Linked DNA regions of Homo sapiens: all the other regions are linked to region 4. Evidence: promoter capture Hi-C in 16 types of primary human blood cells and fetal thymus (Javierre and others, 2016). All regions are on one chromosome and are shown on one strand. The core of a region is centred on a gene start or on the middle of the fragment in contact, and the rest is flanking DNA. Distances in the headings are between cores, read along the strand shown. Region 1 overlaps LOC124900962 (a long non-coding RNA gene). Region 2 overlaps LMBRD2 (LMBR1 domain containing 2). Region 3 has its middle 7.0 kb from the start of NIPBL-DT. Region 4 holds the start of GOLPH3 (golgi phosphoprotein 3).

Evidence for each region. Contacts are between HindIII fragments. The CHiCAGO score rates a contact against its expected background, and 5 or more counts as called.
Region 1: a contact is called between a fragment that was not itself captured here and the fragment with the promoter of GOLPH3 in region 4, in 1 of 17 cell types (total CD8 T cells). The highest score is 5.9, in total CD8 T cells.
Region 2: a fragment that was not itself captured here is called in contact with the fragment with the promoter of GOLPH3 in region 4 in 5 of 17 cell types (total CD4 T cells, non-activated CD4 T cells, total CD8 T cells and 2 more); the score reaches 6.6 in total CD4 T cells.
Region 3: a fragment that was not itself captured here is called in contact with the fragment with the promoter of GOLPH3 in region 4 in 1 of 17 cell types (total CD8 T cells); the score reaches 6.2 in total CD8 T cells.

What each region holds. Positions count from the first base shown.
Region 1 is chr5:36,243,933-36,246,715 of GRCh38, reverse strand. All of the region lies in intron 1 of LOC124900962 (a long non-coding RNA gene), which reads right to left. Among named protein-coding and RNA genes, the nearest start is that of NADK2, 3.4 kb to the right of the region's middle. The HindIII fragment of the contact is 1,662 bases long and covers 456-2,117 here.
Region 2 is chr5:36,148,296-36,151,036 of GRCh38, reverse strand. The region is part of intron 1 of LMBRD2 (LMBR1 domain containing 2); the gene reads left to right. Among named protein-coding and RNA genes, the nearest start is that of MIR580, 1.7 kb to the right of the region's middle. The HindIII fragment of the contact is 2,220 bases long and covers 211-2,430 here.
Region 3 is chr5:36,868,294-36,871,147 of GRCh38, reverse strand. No RefSeq gene overlaps it. Among named protein-coding and RNA genes, the nearest start is that of NIPBL-DT, 7.0 kb to the left of the region's middle. The HindIII fragment of the contact is 1,941 bases long and covers 433-2,373 here.
Region 4 is chr5:32,173,005-32,175,783 of GRCh38, reverse strand. GOLPH3 (golgi phosphoprotein 3) reads left to right here and starts at 1,465. Exons shown (of 4, transcript NM_022130.4): 1 at 1,465-1,974. The coding sequence starts at 1,750. RefSeq lists a silencer at 1,572-2,181. The HindIII fragment of the contact is 5,568 bases long and covers 1-2,458 here.

The sequences.
Region 1 (2,783 bases), core at 37-2,536, 4.1 Mb before region 4:
GAGTCTCATACGGAGCGTGCAACCTAGGTGCCTTGCATGAGCAGTTTACAGTAGTGTTTGCATCCTATGAGAATCTAATGCTGCCTCTGATCTGACAGCAGGCAGAGCTCAGGCAGTAACGCAAATTATGGGAAGCAACTGTAAATACAGATGAAGCTTCACCCCCTTGCCTGCCGCTCCTCTCCTGCTGTGTGGCCCGGTTCCTAATAGGCCAGGGACCGATACTGGTCCACAGCTCGGGGGTGGTGGACCCCTGCTATACAGGTCTTAGAGTATTTGAATGTCATAAAAAGAGGTATATATGTCTTTCATAGAGTCAGAATGAACATGAAGTGGGGGTGGGAAGGGTTCTGGGGGTTGGGAAGGATATATTTTAAAACCTCTGTAAATCTTCAAGTTGTGAATACCACAGTGATATATAATTTTCCCCATAAAATGTTGAGAACAGTTAAGCTTGCTTGAGATATGGCTATCACATGGTTGGCTAGACTCATTTACTAGAAAAGCACACCAGCCTCACCATAGATGGAGTCTGAGTTTAAAACTCAAAAATCCATGAATGCCAGCAGTTTTGTTTGGGAGGGTGAGGTCGGCGGATTGCCTGAGCCCAGGAGTTCAGGACCAGCCCGGGGAACATTGCACAACACCCCATTTCTACAAAAATTTCTAAAAATTAGCAGGGTGGCTGGGCGTGGTGGCTCACGCCTGTAATCCCAGCACTTTGGGAGGCCGAGGCAGGCGGATCATGAGGTCAGGAGTTCTCAGGACCAGCCTGGCCAGGATGGTGAAACCCCGTCTCTACTAAATATACAAAAATTAGCCAGGCGTTGTGGCATGCACCTGTAATCCCAGCTACTCGAGAGGCTGAGGCGAGAATTGCTTAAACCGGGAGGCGGAGGTTGCAGTAAGTCGAGATGGTGCCACTGCACTCCAGCCAGGGTGACAGAGCGAGACTCCATCTCAAAAAAAAAAAAAAATTAGCAGGGCATGGTGACACGCATCTGTAATCCCAGCTACCTGGGAGGCTGAGGTAGGAGGATTGCCTGAGCCTGGGAGGTTGCAGCTGTGTGAGCCATGCGGTGCAGTGCCACTGCACTCCAGCCTAGGGGATAGAGTAAGACCCTGTCTCAGGAAAAAAAAAAAAAAAAGATATTTGTAAACTATGGCACTGGAAGGAAGAATTATTGAAATGATTAGCTAATGTTTAGCCTAATCAAGACTTGATATGGATAAGTTTTCTAACAGAGTGTTACCAAGATTTCTTAATTTCTACCAATCTAGTGGATATAAAATATTATTTCACAATGACATTATTTGTATTTCTCTAATTTCCAATAAGGTTATCTTTTCAAGTATTTATTCACTGTTTGTGTTTCTTCTAAAAAATTCCTGCTCACGCCTGGGCACAGTGGCTCACACCTGTAATCCCAGCACTTTGAGAGGCCGAGGTGGGTGGATCATGAGGTCAGGAGATCGAGACCATTCTGGCTAAGATGGTGAAACCCTGTCTCTACTAAAAATACAAAAAATTAGCCAGGCCTGGTGGCACGCACCTGTAGTCCCAGCTACTCTGGAGGCTGAGGCAGGAGAATCCCTTGAACTCGGGAGGCGGAGGTTGCAGTGAGCTGAGATTGCACCACTGCACTCCAGTATGGACGACAGAGCGAAACTCCATCTCAAAAAAAAAAAAATTCACAATTTTTGCAAAGCTAATCATGTCATTTTCTCCTTTTGGTTGCCTCCTAATATATGCAGGATAAAAGGCAGGTTCCTAAGCATGGATTTAACATTTTCCATTGTCTTTACCCTTGTCTACCTCTCTAGCCTCACTTCCCCATGTTGCCTGCCTCTCTCTAAATTCTCTAAAATTTCAAAATTGCTAGTTCATTGCTTCTATGCATTTGTTCATGGTGTTTCTTCTGTGGAATTTCCTTCTCATTCTTGCTGATAATGGCTAATATTGAATTCATTACTTAAGGCTTAGCTCTTCACATTCCCAAAAAGCCTTCTCTAACTCTTGTTAGGTTGACTTGAGACTTGCTCCTCCAAATTTCTCAGCATTCTGTGTATAACTCTATCACTGCATAGACTTTAGGCTCCTCAAGGGCATGGAAGCTTTTTATCATTTCATCTGTAGCACCTAGCAGGATGCCTGGCCTACAGTGACACTCAAATTTAATTTAATCTCCACGAATGTGTGTTACATGTGTAAGATTTAAGAGACATTATCTAAAAGGAAACTAGATAAGGATTGGAAATTCAAGAGAAAGATCTGGGCTAAAGATGCCAGTAATAGCTGAGGTCATGAAAGGGGCTAATATTTGCCAAGTGTCTACTGTGTAATGGGCACAGTGCTAAGCATCTGTGCATATATTCACAATTTTACAAGGTAGCAATTATATTTTATAAATGCAGAAGTAGTCTCAGGAAGGTTAAACAACCAGTTCAAGTTTCACAAAGCTAATAAACAATAAAACTGAGATTTGAACCAAGATCCTTCCATTACACAACACTGAATGAACTCAGGAGCGTGTGTGTGTGACAGAGAGAGAGAGAGAGAAGGAAAAAAGACGGAGAAGAAGAGACAAGGAGACGAGGACAGAAGACATCTTGGAGATGGGTTTAGGAAGAAGTCAAAAAGGGACATAGAGATGGGAGAAACACTGTTAGGGACTGGTATGTTGGGAGACAGTAAAAGATTTCAAGAAGAAATGATAACCATTTCAAATTCTTTGGAAAGATCAATCAATTAAAGAACTGAAAAAAGTCTTTTGAGTTCCAAC
Region 2 (2,741 bases), core at 71-2,570, 4.0 Mb before region 4:
CCGGGAAAACAGTGGAAGAGGGAAGGGGGATGAATTCTAAGCCTCATAAAAATGAAGATTTATAAAGTTCATAAGGAAGCATAACAGCTTCATCGCATATTAGAATATTCAGTGATGCTGTATGACACACCCTCTGGTTTCCTTGAAAAAATGATTCGCTCTGTAGTGAAATTAAACCTCCCTTGTGCAGGTATATGCTTGTTTCAAGCTTGGTCCTTAGCTTGAAAAGTAACTGCCTCTTGAGGAAGGAATTCATGAACCTTTAGCTCGTTCTTGAAAGATGAGATTGGTGTAAAGAAGGGATCTGTTCACAACTTGGTTTTGATTGGAACTAGGTGCAGAATCCTAGGCTAAGCCGTTCATCAAACTAATGTTATATGGAAAGCATTTTAAAATGCAATATCCTGATGTTTTACAGAAAGTGACCTTTATGTTACTTTGGCTAAGGAGAAAGCATTTGCCTTTGTTTGAAGCTACGTCCTTTCCCTGAAGATTGCAACTCATAGGAGAAAATATTTTTGACACAAAAAATTATAGTTTCCTTCAGGAAAGGGAACAAAACAGAGAGAGCCTGTAAGCTAATGGAGGAGAAAGAATAAACAAAAATATTTAAGATGCCATAATGAGAATAAACAGTTTTGAGATGTAAAATAATTGGGAGAGCCCACTTCAGATATAGATCTCATAGATAGGAAGGTTTAATCGATGAGATGATTCTAAATTTAAAGATGAGAAATATCTTTGTTCAGTCTTGGTTTTACTAGGAGTTACCTGGGAACTAGAATACTTGCAACATCTGAATTAGTGAACACAAGATCCTCTCTAGGACTTCAGGGAGAGCCTGTCAGTTTTGAAATTCAGTTTGATAGTTTGCCCCGGTAACAGACATACTTCATCTTCCTAATATGGGAATAATTTTTTTTTGCCTTCCTTCTAATCATGACTATTGCCTTAATATAATAAATGCAAGTTTAAATTGGTACATTAGATTCTTTTTAACGTAAGGAATTGTGTCCATTGAAGACGAGATTAGTAGGTACATAGAGGTTGCTATCTGGTCATAAAGAACTGCATTGTGATTGCTACTGATGTATCTTATTTTTTCTGATTAATTTTATTTTTATTTTTTGAGAAGAAATTTCACTCTTATTGCCCAGGCTGGAGTGCAATGGCGCAATCTCGGCTCACCATAACCTCCACCTCCCATGTTCAAGCAATTCCCCTGCCTCAGCCTTCCTGAGTAGCTGGGATTACAGGCATGCGCCACCACGCCTGGCTAATTTTGTATTTTTAGTGGAGACGGGGTTTCTGCATGTTGGTCAGGCTGGTCTCGAACTCCCGACCTCAGATGATCCACCCACCTCAGCCTCCTAAAGTGCTGAGATTACAGGCGTGAGCCTCCGTGCCCAGCCGATTCTTACATCTCTTTAAAAGGAAGACGGTCCACCCTTCTTTGTTTCTCCATCCTGCTGTCTAGATGATGATAGGATTCCTGGAGTTCCAGCATCTGTCCTGGAACATAAGGATTAAAGCCACCTGCTAAGGATGTGGACTATAGAAGGGGCCTGGGCCTCTGATAATCTGCTAACTTGCCATAACCACCTATCTCAAGACTTACACGAGAAATAAATTCTGCATTGTATAAGTCTGTACTATATTGGACTTTTCTGTTATGTGTAGCCAAACTAATCTTGAATAATGTATTTCCAGAACTGATAGTCTCTGTGGTGGTGGCAGCTACCTGTTTACATAACCCTTATCACCCCCTAATGTATTTTTTTTAATTGCCTGTTTCTTCCCACTAGACTTTTTAAGGGCAGGGACTTTGCTTGGATTTTTCTATCTCCAGCCCCTTGAACAGAGCTCACCATATAGTAGGCGTTCAGTAAATATTTGCTAAATGAATGAATGGTGCTTGGAACTAAGTAGATCTTTAATTCATTGTAATTTAATGCTCTAAGATAGGCAGCTTGGGGCAAGAACAAACGGATTCTAATTTACTCTATGTTTTCCACTTTTCCCATGTAGAGTACAGTCATATATTACCCTTAAATCAAGTAATAGTAGTATAATCTGTAATGTAAAAAGTTTGCGTTAAATTCTTTATTAAACATGACTAAGCATTCTGTCCTGATATATCTAAAAGAAATGGGAGAAAGTTTCTAATTTGTTCCCTGTGAAGACTGAACAAAATAAATCATTAAGCAATTTAAATTGCATTAAGAAACTATGTCTAGATTAGAGAAGAGACATGTAATTATGATCCAGGCTCTGTAGTAAAGATGCCTCTATTTGAATCCCAGCTTTACCATTCACCAGCTCTGTTAACTTGGACAAGTTACTTAACCTCTCTGCACTGTTTTTTTTCTGTTAAGCAAGGAAACGAACAGCCCTTTCTTACTAGGTTGTGAGGTCTAATTTGATAAAGCTTGGCAGGTACTAGTATTAATACAATGCTTAAAATTTAGTGAACACATTCTAAATGTTAGCTATTCGTTTTTTGAAATTATTTTATTATTAGGAAGGACTTTACAGATTATTCTCTATCAAAATGTCTTGCAATTTCTATGTATGAAATCTTTAAGAATTCAGTAAAATTTTAGTTCTTTTTTCTTATATGCTTACATGATTGCTACCTCTTCTCTTCATGCCTTGCAAAAGGTAAAGCAGGACAGTATGCCACTGTCCTCAGGGGCTTGTCACATTTTGGAATTCAGGTTACCTGGTTGGTTCGCCAACTC
Region 3 (2,854 bases), core at 154-2,653, 4.7 Mb before region 4:
ACTCTCATTTGCCATCCAACTCATTCTATATATTTAAATAAATGTACTTACACTTGTGTATAGGATTTAAAAGGGGGAAACTTAAGAAGGAAGAAATTGTGTATAGAATTTAAAAAGGAGGCATTATATTGCATGAGTAGAATGAAAAGTATCTAACCAGAAAGCAAATAAGTTAAGGATTATATTATACTGAAATATTTTAATACAATTTAAATATTTCATTACTCTTTCACTTTATTTGCTATTTGTAGATTTCAGTATTGTAATGTTGGCAAGTCTATTTAAGACGGCATTAATAAAAATTTTGTTTTTCAGGCATGTGATACCAAGTCCCTTTCCATTATAGATAAGTAAGGCCTAGGTTGGTTAAAACCTTAGCTAAACACAAAATTTGCTAGAGAATCAACATATAAGAAGCTCTAACTCCAAGCTTATTCACCCCAGATATTTCACCAATGTTAACACATACCCTATTGAACTAAGAAAGGAATTATATTACTAACCAGCAGAGGGAGCCAAGTCAATCATGAAAGGTAGGAGTATAAAGGAACATCATATGACTTCCTGTTTTGAATTTAACTGTATGGCCCCTGCTCACTTTTTGAGTTTACCAAAAAGACAGTCATAAGGAGAGAAAGGCGACCAATGTATCAAATAAGGATACAGTGACAATTATAACTTAGAATTACCTTGCAGGAAATAAATTGGAAGAAAAATTGAATGCAGAACTATACAAGTGAAATGTCTCAGTATTATAACCCAAGATGGAAAAACCATGGAAAACAGTACCTTAATGCCATGATGAATTGCTAGCCAAATGTAACAGTGAATATTTCTTAATAATTCCATTTTCACTTAAAGTTGAAATTAGGCCATAAATAGACACATTTTAAAACTATAAAGTTGTACATCAAATTTATGTGCATTTAATCTAAGAAATAAGGGATAAAATTTAATAAAAAATTATTACAGTGAATTAATAAGGACATGATTTTTCAGCTTAAAATTAGAGAACAGAATTGTTTCCACTACTGTTTATAAACACAACAAATAAAGTAATATCTGTTTTGTGAGAGATGTTTGGAGGAATCTAGTAGCTAAGTGATTATGTCAGTTTATTTAATTTTGTCTAAGAACTTCAAAATGCCTGATAGAATGGGTGCATATTGAATGAATAGATGTGATCTATATATTATTTGAAGTAAAAGTATAAGAGCTGAGCGTTAGCTAACTGCATCAAAATAAATGTAAAGACCCAAACATTTTTAGTTGAATAACCAAATGAATTAGCTAGTCTAGCCCCTTACTCGTTTCAAGGTTTGTGGAAACATACCATATATACTTTTACTCATGTGTTTATTCCTTTCAAAAATATACTTCTTAAGCACTATCTCCATAGGACGTGGAGCATATCTTCATTATGAAGTAGACAAACTTCTTAAATTTTATTGAAAGATTTAATTTCATTGATATATGAACAATCATACAAATTCAGTATGCCACCAGTGATTTCAAGAAAGTGATACTTAGAAGCAAATCATTTATGGGACTAGACTGCCTTTGTAGGACTAACAAATTAGGCACAAGATTAGAAATTATAGTTTAATAGTCATGCAGCTGGAGGCTACACGATTCTGACCCTCCCTAACCTGCTCCTAAGATCAGTGCTTGAGATATTCTGCAGACCCTGCACTTGATGGATCAGCTGGCACCACCCAGATCAATAAACTGGCTCATCTGATCTTGTGGCCACCACCCAGGAACTGATTCAGAGCAAGAGGACTGCTTCAATTCCCTATGATTTCATCTCCAACCCAACCAATCAGCACACTCTATTCACTTGCCTTCCCCCACCCACCAAATTATCCTTAAAAACTGATCCCCAAATGCTCCAGGAGACTGATTTGAGTTATAATAAAACTCCGATCTCCAGCCAAAAAATAAAAAATAAAAAGCAAATTATTTGATTTTGAGTACTAGAAAGTAGACTTTAAACTTTTTGAAGGGTATATTCTTTTATAATGCTATATTATACTGGCATTATTTTATAAATTGGCATTTGGTGTCAAGTCAGTTAATCACAGCGATAATATCCAAGATGTACAGCTCATCAGTCCTAGAGACATTTTTTTTTGTTTGTTTAAGACAGAGTCTCTGTCACCCAGGCTGGAGTGCTGCAGTGGTGCGATCTCGCCTGCCTCGGCCTCCCAAAGTGCTGAGATTACAGGCGTGAGCCACTGCGCCCAGCCTAGAGACATTTTAATGCCAAAAAACCCTCAATGCCACCAGTATTACTACTTCTAATTATTTGTTTCCTTTACACACGAGTTGTGATGAATATGGGCTATTAGAATTGCATAAACAGCCTAAGCTTTTAAATGTTTCCACTCATGAAAAATAGCTATTATGAACTTTTAAACATTAAATTAATAAAGTGCAATAGCTTTACCATGAACTATTCCTTATTGATAAACATAGTAATGGGTTAACTCATGTCAAAGTCCAATAAAAACTAGTAACTTTGTCACCAAAGTCAACATTTCAGCATCTATGATATGTAGTATAGGTATTTCTGTTTTATCTAGTTTTCATTTAATAATCTAAAAGATTCTGGCCGGGCACGGTAGCTCACGCCTGTAATCCCAGCACTTTGAGAGGCCGAGGGAGGCAGATCACGAAGTCAGGAGATAGAGACCATCCTGGCTAACATGGTGAAACCCCGTCTCTACTAAAAATACAAAAAATTAGCCGGGCGTGGTGGTGGGCGCCTGTAGTCCCAGCTACTAGGGAGGCTGAGGCAGGAGAATGGCGTGAACCCGAAAGGTGGAGCTTGCAGTGAGCCGAGATTGCACCA
Region 4 (2,779 bases), core at 216-2,715:
CTCACGCCTGTAATCCCAGCACTTTGGGAGGCCAAGGCCGGCGGATCACGAGGTCAGGTGATCGAGACCATCCTGGCTAACACGGTGAAACCCCGTCTCCACTAAAAATACAAAAAATTAGCCAGGCGTGGTGGCGGGCGCCTGTAGTCCAGCTACTCAGGAGGCTGAGGCAGGAGAATGGCGTGAACCCGGGAGGCAGAGCTTGCAGTGAGCCGAGATTGTGCCACTGCACCCCAGCCTGGGCAACAGAGCAAGACTCCGTCTCAAAAAAAAAAAAAAAAAAAAAAAAAAGAGGGTGTGAATGGGAGAAATTGGTTGAGGTGAAATCGACCTTCACCAAGACAGGTGGGAAAAAGGGAAGGTCTACTTGGTGTGCCCCCTGGACCCTCTCTTCCCTTCATTTAGCACTGTCACTTTCCAGGGCATGGGATGGTAGGCAGCAGCAGTTCTGGATAATGGATTTGTGGAAGAGAAGAATCCATCTAAAGCACTCTTTAGCCACAGCCCATGATCACTTTTTTTAAAAAATTTTTATTTTTTGCTTTGCTGTTGTTCCACTCTGTCCATACATTGTTTAATACAGGATGGCACACAATACCATTCCTGGTTAAATGTTTCACTTAACAAGCGCCACCCTCTACTCCTCCAACTCCTGTCTCAGGTTTGACAGCTATTTTTTTAACCTAATTTGCGCACGCCAAGAGGATTTCACCTAGTAACTACACGGAGAGACATCCGATGCGTACAAAGACGTGGCATGAAACGCTGCAGGTTTATTGTCTCTATAAAAAGATCGTTAAGGTCGAGCGTGCTAACGTGTGCGGTACTAACTGTACTCACTACGCCCTGGTCACTTTATAGCACAAGTCCGAGGCAAGGAAAGAAGTTTTACAAACAAAACTGGTCAACTGTTCTATCTTCTTACTCCTGGAAAACAATAAAGGTCCACTTTCAAACCATTTGGACGCACTTGCTCCTTCTAAAGGGTTAGGGAGTCCCGGCAGATAGCGTACCCCTCCCCGCCCAGCAGCAGAGAGCAAAGTCCTTCCTGCCGATCCTGCAGACCCCGGAGTCCAAATGGGACCCCGTCCACACGACCGCGGAGTCGCCTCCGAAGACGGCGGTGTCTGGGGCGTGGAGGGCACGGCTGGAGGCTGAGTGGGGTCCACCTTCGCGTGGCCCAGGCTCTTCCATTCACGGGGGGCCCCGCCAGGTTCAGGCTCCAGCCCTGGGTAGTGAAGGGGAAACGGGGAACGGAAGGAGGGAGGGCACGTCACGGGAGCAGGACTGCAGGACCGCGGGTCAGGGGGCGCAGGAACGCCAAAGAAAAGACAAGCACCGAGGGCCGGGAAGGGTGTAGGCTGCAGTGGCAGCGGATCCCCGGCCGCCGCTTCCGGCGCCTCCCGGCCCAGCTCTCCCGCGCCGACTCTGCCACATCCTCCGGTGACGTCAGCCGGGGCCGCCATATTGGAAAGGCGCCGCCGCCGCCTCCGCCTTGGAGCTCGGGGTGTTTCGGGGACTGCGGCCACAGGCAGGAAGGCGCTCCTCTCCTGCCCCGCCGACGCCCGGCCAGCCCGCTTCGCCCTGACCTGTTTCCTCATGACTGCCCCCGGCCCTGCTGCCGACGGACGTCGCCCCGGCGTCCGGATTTAACACGGAAACCCGGATCGGAGGCCGCGCGGGGAGGAGGAGGGCGACCCGGTCGGTCCTGCGACCCTCTCGGCCCGGCTCGGCGCCTCGGCGGGAGCCATGACCTCGCTGACCCAGCGCAGCTCCGGCCTGGTGCAGCGGCGCACCGAGGCCTCCCGCAACGCCGCCGACAAGGAGCGGGCGGCGGGCGGCGGCGCCGGCAGCAGCGAGGACGACGCGCAGAGCCGCCGCGACGAGCAGGACGACGACGACAAGGGCGACTCCAAGGAAACGCGGCTGACCCTGATGGAGGAAGTGCTCCTGCTGGGCCTCAAGGACCGCGAGGTGCGGGCGCGGCGGGCTGGGCGGGGGGCGGCGGCGCGGGGCCCGGGCGCCAGGTGAGCTCCAGGTAGGTGCCAGGTGAGCGCCCGAGGCTTCCGGCCCGCGCACCTGCCCTCGCTCCGAAGTCCGCGCCTGGTGGCGCCCAGCTGACGCCGAGCGGTGTCGGAGTTGGTTGACCCCCTGGCGCGGCTGGTGCTTTCTGGATCCTCCCCGTAGAGATGGCTTGGATTTTTCCTTACCCCTTTCACAGTCGCTCCTTTCATTTCGACACCCTGGCAGTTTGTATTTCTTCGTCGCCTTTTTTCCGCGTTTTTAACCCGTGTAGACCCCAGGGTGCAAATCCAACCCGGAGACTGCCCGGGAAACTAACAGCTGGAGCCACCAGCGCCACGAACTCTTTGGGTTTTTGCAGGCTTTAGGACCTGGGAGGGGTGCCCGGATCTGCTTGCTGGGGATGTTTTTTTTTTCTTCTTCTTCAGTTAAAGCTTACTGTTGGGAATTACGAAAAACGTAGGCGAAGTGGTAATAGAGGGAAAAGCTCTTTTACTGAGTAAAGTTAAGTTAAGTTTCTCATGAAACCTCCTGGTAAATGACTTTCTAGGTGAACTTACATTAGGTGAGAGATTATTTTTAGTATCGCTTTTATATTTTATCAGTTGATGAATCTCAAAGTCTTGCCGTCTTAAGAAAGGGCTTTTTCATCGAGTGCTTGAAATGTAGGTTTGTGAGTTGATCAGAGGCCTCAAAGCTTCAGGTGGGTTGAAGTTGCAATAGATAATTCTTTGTATTCTGACTTTGAAAGCGTTTA